3 separate regions of the Homo sapiens genome follow, and all the other regions are linked to region 2. Evidence: promoter capture Hi-C in human tissues and cell types (Jung and others, 2019). All regions are on one chromosome and are shown on one strand. Each heading gives the region's core, a stretch centred on a gene start or on the middle of the fragment in contact. The rest is flanking DNA. Distances are from core to core; before and after follow the strand shown.

What was found. The method cuts DNA at HindIII sites, captures the fragments that hold promoters and counts their contacts. A contact is called where the count stands out against the background at its distance.
Region 1: a fragment that was not itself captured here is called in contact with the fragment with the promoter of CDO1 in region 2 in 3 of the 25 tissues and cell types used here (dorsolateral prefrontal cortex, hippocampus and liver).
Region 3: a fragment that was not itself captured here is called in contact with the fragment with the promoter of CDO1 in region 2 in 1 of the 25 tissues and cell types used here (mesenchymal stem cells).

What each region holds. Positions count from the first base shown.
Region 1 is chr5:115,572,328-115,576,255 of GRCh38, reverse strand. No RefSeq gene overlaps it. Among named protein-coding and RNA genes, the nearest start is that of TICAM2-AS1, 28 kb to the left of the region's middle. RefSeq lists enhancers at 801-870, 901-950. The HindIII fragment of the contact is 6,791 bases long and covers 1-3,928 here.
Region 2 is chr5:115,814,784-115,818,881 of GRCh38, reverse strand. It overlaps CDO1 (cysteine dioxygenase type 1), which reads left to right and starts at 2,223. Exons shown (of 5, transcript NM_001801.3): 1 at 2,223-2,654. The coding sequence starts at 2,485. LOC124901049 (a long non-coding RNA gene) reads right to left here and starts at 1,794. Exons shown (of 2, transcript XR_007058908.1): 1 at 1,711-1,794. The HindIII fragment of the contact is 9,051 bases long and covers 1-4,098 here.
Region 3 is chr5:115,964,536-115,968,463 of GRCh38, reverse strand. The region is part of intron 1 of LVRN (laeverin); the gene reads right to left. Among named protein-coding and RNA genes, the nearest start is that of LVRN, 4.0 kb to the right of the region's middle. The HindIII fragment of the contact is 3,590 bases long and covers 588-3,928 here.

The DNA of each region.
Region 1 (3,928 bases), core at 1,423-3,922, 240 kb after region 2:
CTCATTTGGGAATAGGCTGTATGAGTTTAGTTATACTATTCCCCTTGGGTTGGGTGGAGAAGGGAGTAAGAGTATCACTAGTCTACTCTGCTCCTTTCTTTCCTGACTAACTTAAGTTCTGCCTTGAATTCAACAAGCTGTTTGCTGGGGTTAACGCTTTCCAGCACAAGTCAGGGATGTTTTCCGCTTCAGTCCCTCATCCTTCAATTTTGCAGATCCTAATGCATTGGTTGTCAAAACCACTTCACTGCATAGAAGGTAACACCACTAGTAACAGAAATAACTTCCCTTGGCCCTCTCATTTGCAACAGCTCATTCCTAAGGCCCAATCCCAGTTCCTGATGGTGGATGTTGTTCCAGCCTGGAAAGCTTAATCACTTCCTCTCCAGTAACGAATAAATAGACTAGATTTCACTGAGTCATCTGTCTGCCCAGCAAAGGACCCTGCAAAAAAGAGATCAAAGTGGTTTTCACAGTCTTGTTGCAAAGGAAATCTGAGTTGGGGCCCAAGTATTCAAAGGGTGTAGAGTGGCTCAATATTAGTATCTAATTCAGGAGAATCATTTCAGTGCAGGCAAAGGATTTCAGGTCCTTTATCTGTACATTTTGCAGGTAAAAAACCTCAGTGCAGGTAAAGAAACCACATGCCATGCTGTGGAGTCAGGCTATTCCCAACTGTAGAGAAAGTCCATTGATCCATGAGTGTGGTGGGGCTGGCCCCAGGGCTAGTGAGAAGCTGTTGCCATGGCTGCATTGCTGGTAAGGTGGGATTCCGTGTGTTTGCCCTGAGCAATCTGCGCTGCCTCTGTGACTTTCCTCCTCTTCTCAGTCTTACACCGCCTGGTCTTAGGTCATCTGCTAAGCTGTCACAGAAAGTGACGTACCCTCCACACCTGTGGATGGTCTGAAGGGCAAGGAGGAAATTTCAGAAAGCTGTCAGGCACTTGATGAAATGAAACCACAGCATCTGGAAGTTGATGTCCTTAAGCCAATGACCAGAAGGAATGAACCAGAGAACTGATGTTGTTGTCCATGGACCTGATGTTTCTTATGAGATTCCAAGTAGAAAAATTTATTAGATTTTGAACACTTAACGGCTGGATAAGGACAACTTTCTTATATATATATATATATATATATATATATATATATATATATATATATATATATATGTCATATGTGGCAATACTCTTGTCAATTAACATATTAAGTTTGGATTGAGGTAAGTAATACTTGAAAGTGCCATTAATTAATAACTCAGAGCATGAAAATTATTTGATTAAAAGCTCAATGAGGCTGGGTGTGGTGGCTCATGCCTGTAATCCCAGCACTTTGGGAGGCCAAGGTGGGTGGATCACGAGGTCAGTAGTTCAAGACCAGCCTGGCCAAGACGGTGAAACCCCATCTCTACTGAAAATACAAAAATTAGTCAGGCGTGGTGGCAGGTGCTTGTAATCCCAGCTACTCAGGAGACTGAGGCAGGAGAATTGCTTGAACCTGGGCAGCAGGGGTCGCAGTGAGCCTAGATCTGGCCACTGCACTCCAGCCTAGGCGATACAGTGAGACTCTGTCTCAAAAAAAAAAAAAAAAAAAAGCTCAACGAATTAACTTGTGGAAAAAAAGAAAGACAATTGCTCTTCTCTCTTCTCCTTTGCCAATGAACCTGCTCTCACAACTGTTTACTCCAACATCTATACTCCTTCACAGTTGCCTTCCTTTCTGTCATGAGCAAGAATTGTTCTGGGGAAATCACTTCTTTAGTTAGTTTAACACACTTCTATTTCTCTTCAGATAGAGTGAGTTCTGAGTCATTTTCACTCTGAGGTGAATAATTAGAAATGCTTTTATTAGCAAGTAACAGGAACCTGCATTTAAGCAGTTTCCAAATCTAATTAGAAATGTTGCTTTCAGCTACCTACTCAAACTACAGGTTTAAATCAAGAAAATTGTTTTTTTCTATTATTTGTAGGGGACCTCTACAAACTAGCTCCTTCCGGAGGTTTTCCATGTATATATTGGACAGGACACATAACAAGCTTTACAGATTTCTGTATATTTTATGTGTATTTATAAATAATGCTATCACATTAAAATGTTCTAAAATTAGATTGCAGTGCTGGTTGCACAACTCTGCACATATACTAAAAACTGTTGAGTTGTATACTTGAAATGGGTAAATTTTATGGTATGTAAAATATATCTCAATAAAGAACCTAAAAAATACTCTCGAGCAAAGATGACAATAAAATGCTACAGTGATTTGGAAACATGATTTAGCAATGACTAGTAATGTTGAAGATGGGCATATCTTATGAATCTAGCAATTCTACCTCTGGATTTGTATCCCAAAGAAACTCTCTCACAGGTACCCAAAGAAGCACGAGTGAGAAGGATGCCTATGCAGCATTCTTTGTAATAGGTAAATAATGGGAAACAATCTAAATGTCCATCAGTAGGAGGATGCAGGAATACATTATGGCAGGTTCATGAAATCAATACTATAGGGCATTAAAAATAACTAGGAAACCTACATATGTGAATATGGGTAAATTTCTAAAATGTAATATGTGGGAGAAGTAAATTATAGAATAATATGGATAATTTGATAACATTTATATAAAGTTTTAAAACGTACAAGACAGCTCTGTATTTTTAATGGGTACTTACATTGGTGATGGTATATTATTTTCCATGCTCTCCTGTATGTTTGAAAAAGTTCATAATTATTTTTTAAATTAGCATTCACTTGTAGTCATGTTAAGTGCTGTAGATGTTTCCTACACGTGCAATGATTTGAGGAACTAAAAAAAGATGAAGACTGTCAATGGGTAGAGAAATATATGCTTGTAATAATACGTTTCATTTTTTATCACCTACTGTGTTTGGCACTTAACTTACATTATCTCCAGTGTTCCCCAGATTCCTACAAGGTTAGTCATACAGTGTCCAATACTGGGCCAAGAAACAGATGCTGGAAATGTAATATACCCAAGATCACAGGCTGGTAGAGGATGGAGTCATTGAAATATTCAGTGGTCTGGCTCCAAAGCCTTGTGGGTCTTAGGCTTCATAATTGTGCTTCTCAATGTACCTGTCTGCTTTTCTCATGGTGGAGAAATTAGGAGAGGCCAGTAGTACAAAGAGAAAACCATAACAAGTTCATGGTGAGGTTGCCATAATTCTAGTCTTCTTTGCCTAGTATGCACAACTCATGACAGAGAGTCTCAGGAACTATGCGTCCTAATTCCACTGTGCTGCTGTGGAGCTAACTTTTCTAATCTTCACTTTCCTCCAGAAGACTCAAAGTATTGCAGTAGCTGATTTCTAACATTTTCTAGCTGTGTGATTTTTTTCTGAGCTCTAAAAACTAAGGTCTCTGCCCATTCTAAAATGCTTCCCTTCTTTTGTTGTACTTTCTTCACTTCAGCTTTTGAACAAGCATCACTAAGCACTATTTTGTCACAAACTCCATGACCTTTGGAAATGGAAATGATGCTCTCTTAGTAAGCCCTGTCTGTGTCTAGGGAGAGAGGAGGATGTCAGTGTCTTTTAGCTCTGAACAAGAAGTCCACTATGTCTGGCATGATAATTTAAAGGGTCGCCAAATACTCTTGTTTTGTTTTGCTTTATGTAGTTTATTTGCTCATACTAGATGACACATATGTTAAATGAAACACTGCTTTGATTTAGAGGGAGGAGGAAAAATGGGGTACATAATAAGTGGGACTAGTGTTTATTTCAGGAAAAATGTGTTGCTTAGCTCCTGTATGCATATAATCATGTGCATCTTTTCTGTGTTTCAGAACAAAGATGTTGTTCAGCAATATAGGAAACATTAACAAAGGGAAACGAATGCAGACATTTACATACACTGTGATTTGTGAGTTTCAGGGTGGGATAGATCTAGCAAAAATTATGTTTAATGCTT
Region 2 (4,098 bases), core at 974-3,473:
TAGAGCTATAACACTCACCGCATGGTCCAAGGTTCCATTCCTTGGAATCCATGAGGCCAAGAACCCCAGTTCAGAGAACAAAAGGCTTGCTGCCATCCTGGGAGCGGTGGCCACCATCTTGGGAGCTCTAAGAACAAAGACCTGCCCATAAGAATTAGAGATATAGAAAATGAAGAACACAATGCAATATCAGCACACCTCTATTTGGCCAAAATTGGTAAAACTGACAATACCTGGCGAGGATGCGGGGCAACTAGAACTCATACATCACTGTTGAGAATGTGAAATGGCACAGACCCTTTGCAAATTAGTATGTCAATTTCTTGCAAATTTAAACATGCACTGACTAAATGGCCCAGCAATCTCACTCCTAGGTATTTACTCAGGTGAAATGAAAATTTCTATTCACCCGAAAAAACATTTGTTGAATAAATTAATGAATGAATAATAAACGAATGGAGCTATCATAATGTAAAATGACTAGATAATATCTAAAATTGCTGAAACAAAAAAAAATATAAGCCTATTTTTGGAAAAAGGAAGTAACTACCACAAGGAATAGTTAGAAGAGTTAAGAGACTGACTCTTTAAGCACAGGACAGATGGTCAGGAATGGTTAAAAGGGCCTGCTGCTTTTCATTGACCTTCCAGTACTATTGATTTTTTTTAACTACGTGAATATATTACTTTCATAAAAATGTAAAAAGAAAAAGAGGAGTCAGAGAAAGAAAATGAATTGTCAGAAAAATTTAGAAGTTTTATCAACTGAAATGCAGAAAAGATAAATTGTGCTTGCATTTCATTTTTGTTGTTCATTCCAAACATTTATGGATTAGACTAGCTGAAATGAAGTAATTAAGAGACTCAATAGAAAACATTGCCAAGAATAAAAAATAATTTGAGGAAACCATGAAAAGTTTACAGGTTACTCTGTCACAAAATACTTTGTTAATTCACTACCCCGCAGCAACACACATCACCAAGGCTGGCTTCTGGAATGCTTTCTACTTGTAGCCATTTTTGAACAATAGGTGATTCCGCTTTTAACAACACTGTTAGAATATAATGTAGCGAGTTTTACCAGAGATGTTTAAGACTACCTGGCACAAGTAAATTTCATTGTATACATGTATATACACGAGGGAGGGTGATCATAGTCTAGAAAAAAACAGGTCTTCAGAAGTCTAGAACTTTAATAACCTTAAATCCAAATTATTCCCTGCGTCCATCCATAATGAGAAGGAAGAAATCTACACTTGCATTTCTTCCACCTTTCACATCTTTCTCATTTAAATCCTACTGTACTTGATTTGTGTTGTTCCCAACGTACTAGGTGCTATGCATGACGTAGAAACGTGTTTCCTTATATGTATGTACTAGCAGGCTCCTTCAAGCACATGCCTAAGGTTGAAAGATTCAAATATAATTATAGCCTCTTAAATTATTGCGTCAGAGCCCGCCCTATCCCCTCAGAAAAAGCCCCCTTTTACACCATCAAATGAAATATCAGGTTATTTGCACTGGATATTTTTTAAAAGAAAATATTTGATTTTAAAATCAAAGAGTTCTTGGTTTTCCATCATTTCACTAATTGTCTTACTAGAGACCCGAGTCTCCTTTGTCAAAATATATTTCAGTACGCATTTTAAAAAATATGTGTGTGTGTATACTTAAATATATATATATATAAAGTCTTGGACTTATTTTCACCTAGCCTGGGGCATATCGTGGATAGTTTCAATCGACAAAACAGGCACTCTCTGGCCTAGGAGTGGAATCCATCCTCAATTTTCGCAGGCTCCTCACAATTCTCTATTTGGAAGAAGTGTCCCTCTCCTTCCCTTTTCTTTTCCTCCTTTACTCAGCGTCAGTCCCCGCAGCCATCTCCTCCGACCCTTTTTGTCTACGTCCCAGCGTCGCGAACCACAGCGGCGGAGGTGGAGCGGGGAGAGGCGTTAGGCCGGGCGGCTAAAACGCGCCGTTAAAGTGGGGGAGAGATTGCGCGGAGCCCACGCGATCCCTGGGACGCCGGAGACAACGGGGCTCTTGGGAAGGCGCGGAGCCCGGGGAAGCCGGGGATGTGCGCGTGAGCCGTGCCCGCAGGGTCTCCCCGCCTCCGCCACCTTTCTTGGGTGGCTCTCCGCCTCGTCCTCCCTCCGAGGGCCGTTGGTACATTCCTAGTGACTCCAAGCGCTTAAAAGGGGCCCGGGAGGATGAACCCCACAGATCTGAACCTGATTTGTGTGTGCACCGCGTCTCCAGCGATCCCGGATCCACTGCGCTGCCAGGGGCCTGGGGGTGGGTCTCTTGCTGTCTCTGCGACGACATCCTTACGTTTCGGCACTCTAATGCTGGGTTTGTGCGTGTGTGTCTGCTTAGCGGTCTAGCGGGCTGTTAGGCTCCCTCGCCCCCAGCTCCTTGGCTCGCTCAGCTCCTCCACCGCAGCCCAGCAGTGAGACGCGCGCGCAGCCAGCTCCCCACGAGATGGAACAGACCGAAGTGCTGAAGCCACGGACCCTGGCTGATCTGATCCGCATCCTGCACCAGCTCTTTGCCGGCGATGAGGTCAATGTAGAGGAGGTGCAGGCCATCATGGAAGCCTACGAGAGCGACCCCACCGAGTGGGCAATGTACGCCAAGTTCGACCAGTACAGGTGAGCGCGCTGCAGCTTCAATGCCAGGCGGCGCCCACTCGCCCCGTCTGAGGAGGAATGGACGTGGGGGACGCAGCCCAAAGTGACTGGCTCGGGAAGCTCGGGCCGCGCTGCGTCCGCCGCTCGCCCCCTCGCTGGCCAGCCGCGGGGCTGGCACGACTCGCTTGGGGCTCCGCGGCCACAGCGCAGGCGGAAGGTGGATCCTACTGGCCTTGCTGACCTCCGGCCGGGAACGGCGGACAGGCGCCGGGAAGGGAGGCCACCGCGCGTCTGCGAGATTTTCTGTTCTCTTCTCTCCCGCAAACCCCTCTGCTTCTAAACCACCAGTCCTCCTGCCCCTGGCCTCGGGAGCAATGCCCACACTCCCAAGCCATCGTTAACCCCGGGCGCGGAGATGCGGAGAGACCGCACTCAGGTTCGGGCCCTCCTGACACCTTAAGGAACCGTCTGGCCGGACTAGCAGAGGGTGCTCCCAGGGGAGCACTACATCAGCCATCGGGAGAAGTGTGTGATGTTGAAGAAGACAAGTCACCCGCGTCAGTTCTCCATCACTGCGCCTTCGGTCGCCTGCAACCGGGCACCTTATAGCAAGCATTTTTACTCATGTAAAATAGCGTCTTGTGGCCGTCAGCTGCCACTACGGAATTTCTGCTGTTCCCTTTCCCAAACCAATTTAACTAACTTCCCCGACTGTGGGTTTATTCAAATCCACTGCCAAGTTTCGCAGATTAAATATTCGACCGTCGTTTTTTTCAGCCCCCAAATGATCTGATTTATCTTATCCTTGCTTCTGACGATCTGTAATGTAAATTAAAGACCCCTACTTCCCAGATGTACTTGAGTGAGGTGCCCTGGTAAGCTGGCTTTTTTGCAGCCCCGGCTTGGTGATTAAGTCGAATCTCTCTACCAATCCTCCGGGGCCAGAGGTAAAATTTAATCACCCCGAAGTGTGAGAGGTTCTACTTTTTCTGAGCAGTTAGTGCGTCAGTCTTTGTGGTTTTTTGGGTTTAGGGTTAGGAGAAAGGGGTAAGTGAAAGAAAAGAATAAGGAAAGAAGTAAGTTTGTTTTTCTTGGGAGCAGGTTCTTTTAGTCACTCTTCAACATGTGGGATGTTTCGTAAAGTTTTGTTGGCATGGGCGGTTTCAACTGTATTTTAGGATTTGAAATAGAAAAAGTGAAGACCACTAAGGATCCCATTTTTCATATACAAGTGACTTGAGGAAATTCCTTTGGCTCCTATCAGCTTAGTTCATGGTAGAGCCCTTCTGTAGCCGTGAAAGCTAGCAGAGAGTCTAGCTTTTAAATTTTCTTGCATTTGCTCCAGGTAATTGAAGACTTGTTATGGGACAGGTACTCTTCCAGACACTTGACACATATGAGGAATGGCAGGCAATGAAGAAGTTGAATGACTTGCACTAGGTCTTCTATCGATAGCGGCTCCAGG
Region 3 (3,928 bases), core at 1,133-3,632, 150 kb before region 2:
CCATCTCTGAAAAAAAAAAAAAAAAAGGGTGGGGAACTAAGGCTGGCTCAATATTTTCAAAAATCAATCAATATAATACCCATATTAACAGGCTCAAGAAGAAAAAATATCACATGATTATATCAATTTATGCAGAAAAAGTGTTAGAAAAATTCAACATGCATTCATGCAAAAGAAACTCTCAGAAAAAAATATGAATAGAAGACAACTTTCTCAACTTGATAAAAAACATATACAGAAACCTACATTTAATATTATGCTCAGTTGTAAAGGCTAAAAACTTTCCCACTAAGATGAGGAGAAAAAAGCAAGAATGTTCATTCTTACCACTCATGTTTAACACAGTGCTGGAAGTTTTACCCAACACAATCAGGCAGGAAAAGAAAATAAATGGCAGATAGATTGAAATTGAAGAAATAAAACTGTCTCCGTTTGTTGACAACATGATGATCTATGTAGACAATTCCAAGGGCTCTACAAAATAAAACACACAAAGCTCTAGATCTCATGAGTTCAGCAAGAGAACAGGATACAAGATCAACATACAAAGCAGCATTTCTATATAGTAGCAACAGACATGTAGAAAACCAAAATTAAACATATAATACCATTTACTATTTCTGAAATAAACTTAAATATTTAAGTGTGAATCTAACAAAATGTGTAGGATTTGTATGCTAAAAATGATAAAATTCTGATGAAATCAAAGATCTAAATAAATGGACATTTAATGCTCATAGAATGGAATATTAAGGATAGCAAAGCTAGCAATTCTCCCTAAATTTACATAAAGGTTTAACATAGGTCCTATCAAAATCCTAATAAGATTTTTAGTAGCTATATATAAGAATATCATAAAATATATAAAGAAAGGCAAAGGAACTAAAATAGTTAAAACAATTCTAAAAAAAGACAATTTCAAGACTTATTGTATAGCTGCAGTAAGCAAGACTATGTAGTACTGGCACAGGAATCAACACCTATGTTGATGGAACAGAATAGAGAATCCAGTAATAGTGGGGCCAACTGATTTTTGACAAAGGTGCAAAAGCAATTCAATAGTGGGAGGATACTCTTTTCAACAAATGATGCTGGAAAAAATGGATATCCATAGGCAAAAGAATTAACCTCAACCTAAACATAACATCTTAAAAAATCATCTCAAAGTGGATTATAGATTTAAATGTAAAACACTTTCGGAAGACAACATAGAAAATCTGCAGAACCTAGGGCTTGGTGAAGAGTTCTCAGGCATGACACCAACAGCATGATCCATTAAAAAATAGACAAATTGGACTTCATCAAAATTAAAGTAAAACTTTTATTTAAAACTTTTATTCTCTGAAAGACCTTACTAAGATGATGAAAAGACAAGCTATAGGCTGGGAGAACATATTTGCAAACCATATATATCTCACAAAAGACTTAGATCTAGAATATATAAAGAACTTCCAGAATTCAACAGTAAAAAATAAAATCTATTAGAAAATAAGAAAAGACGTGAAGAGACATTTCACTGACTGATATACAGATGGCAAATAAGCACACAAAAAAATGTTTAACATCATTAGTCATTGGAGACATGCAAATTAAAACCACAATGAGATATTACCATACACCTATCAGGACAGCTAAAATATAGTGACAATACCAAATGATGGCCATGATACAGAGAACATCTATCACTCATATATTGCTGGTAGGAGTATAAAATGGTATAGCCACTTTGAAAAACAATTTGGCAATTTCTTAAGGACTAAACATGCAACTACCATATGACGCAGCAATGACACTTGTGAACATTTGTCCCAGTGAAATAAATACTGTGTTCACACAAAAACCTGTACAAGTGCTTTGGGAGGCAAAGGTAGGAGGATCCCTTGGGGCCAGAAGTATGAGGCTAGCCTGGGCAACATAGAGGGACCCCGCCTCTTAAAGAGAAAAACTTGTACACAATTATTCATAGAAGATTTATTTGTAAAACCAAAAACTGGAAACAACTAAAATAACCCTCAATCGATGAATGACTAAATAAACTTTCATACATCCATACCATGGAATAGTACTTAGCAATAAAAAGACTCAAACTATTGATGCATACTTGGATGGATCGCAAGGGCATTATGCTGAGTCAGAAAGGTCTAAAGGATATAATTCCATTTATAGAACATTCTCAAAATGACAAAATTACAAAGATGGAACGGATTAGTGGTTGTCAGGGGTTAGAGATGATTAGGAGTGGTATGAGTGCATAAAAAGGAGAAGTATGGGAATGATCTTTAAGGTGGAACAGTTCTGTATCTTTATTGTGGTAGTTTTTGCGCAAATGTACGCATATGATAAATGACACAAAGACATATATATGCATAGTACCAATGTCAAATTCTTGATTTTGATATTGTACTATAATTATGTAAGATAAACTAGATGAAGGGTACCTAGGACCTCTCTATATTATCTTTGCAACTTCTGGTGAATCTATAATTATTTCAAAATAAAAAGTTAGAAAAAAGTATGAGATACCATATTAGTCCGTACTCATGCTGCTATGAAGAAATACCCAAGACTGGGTAATTTATAAAGAAAAGGAGTTTAATTGACTCACAGTTCTGCATGGCTGGGAAGGCCTCAGGAAACTTATAGTCATGGCAGGAGATGAAGGGGAAGAAAGGGGAAGAAAGGTACTTTCTTCACAGGGCAGCAAGACAGAGTGAATGCAAGCAGGGGAAATGCCAGAGGCTCATAAAACCATCAGATCTCATGAGATTCACTCACTATCAGGAGAACAGCATGGGGGAAACCACCCCCATGTTCCAATTACCTCCCACTGGGTTATGGGAACTACAATTCAAGATGAGATTTGCGTGGGGACACAACAAAACCATATGAGGTGCCAATAGTAGGCATCAGAATTATCTGAGACAATCGTCAAAACGTATAAATTTCTAAACTCCATTCTAAACTCCCTGATCTATAATTTATTTTTGCTCATTAAAAATTTTTAATTCTAGTAAAATACACATAACATAAAGTTTACCACTTTAACCATTTTTAAGTGTATAATAGTTCAGTAGTGTTAAGAACATTCACATTGTTGTCAACCTATCTCCAGAACTCTTATCACCTTACAAAACTAAAATCTATACCCATTAAGCAATAACTCCCCACTCCCCAGCTTCTGCCTTCTTCTCCTCTGGGAATCTTCTTAGACTCATATATACCAGGAACTTGGCAGGTTCTGCGTTTAGATAACAAGGAAGCTGATCATAATGATAATCCAACCTAAGGATAGCAGTTACCACTATCCAGGCTGTATGTGTCACTGTGTACTCCCTTTTTCATTTAATTCTCACAGTACTCTAATAGTTGACAGTTATTATATCTATTCCGTGAATGAGGAAACAGACTCAGAGAGGTTAAGAGACTAGCTCAATTCACACAGCTCAGGTTCAAACTCAGGCCTGCTGGGCTCCCAGAATCTGGCGTACCACAAGCCATCCTTCTGTTGCAGGTTCTTCATGACCCTGGCTTCAAGCTTAACCTTAGGTGTCTTTTCCTTGTGGTTTCAGAAGCAGAGACCCAAAGGGTAACAACTCTTCCAAAACATCACAATTTTGGAGCTCTACCTTGGTTTATGAACATCTGTAGAACTTTATTAAGATTTCTTCTTGCTTGAATTTTAATGTTCTGAAAATATGGTTTCTAGTTAACACTAGAGTTAGCAACACAATAGAAAAATTGAACGGGACTTCCCTTTCCCACATTTGCAAGCTTGACTGGGCCACAGCCCCACTGAAACAGGACCAAGGAAGAGGTAGGTGAACAGAGGAGGATTTACTGACCTACAGCAAGAAAAAAAAAAAAGTCAGATATGTAGGTGAAGTGTTTCTATTTTTTCCTCTGAAATATTTTGCACCCTGACCTACAC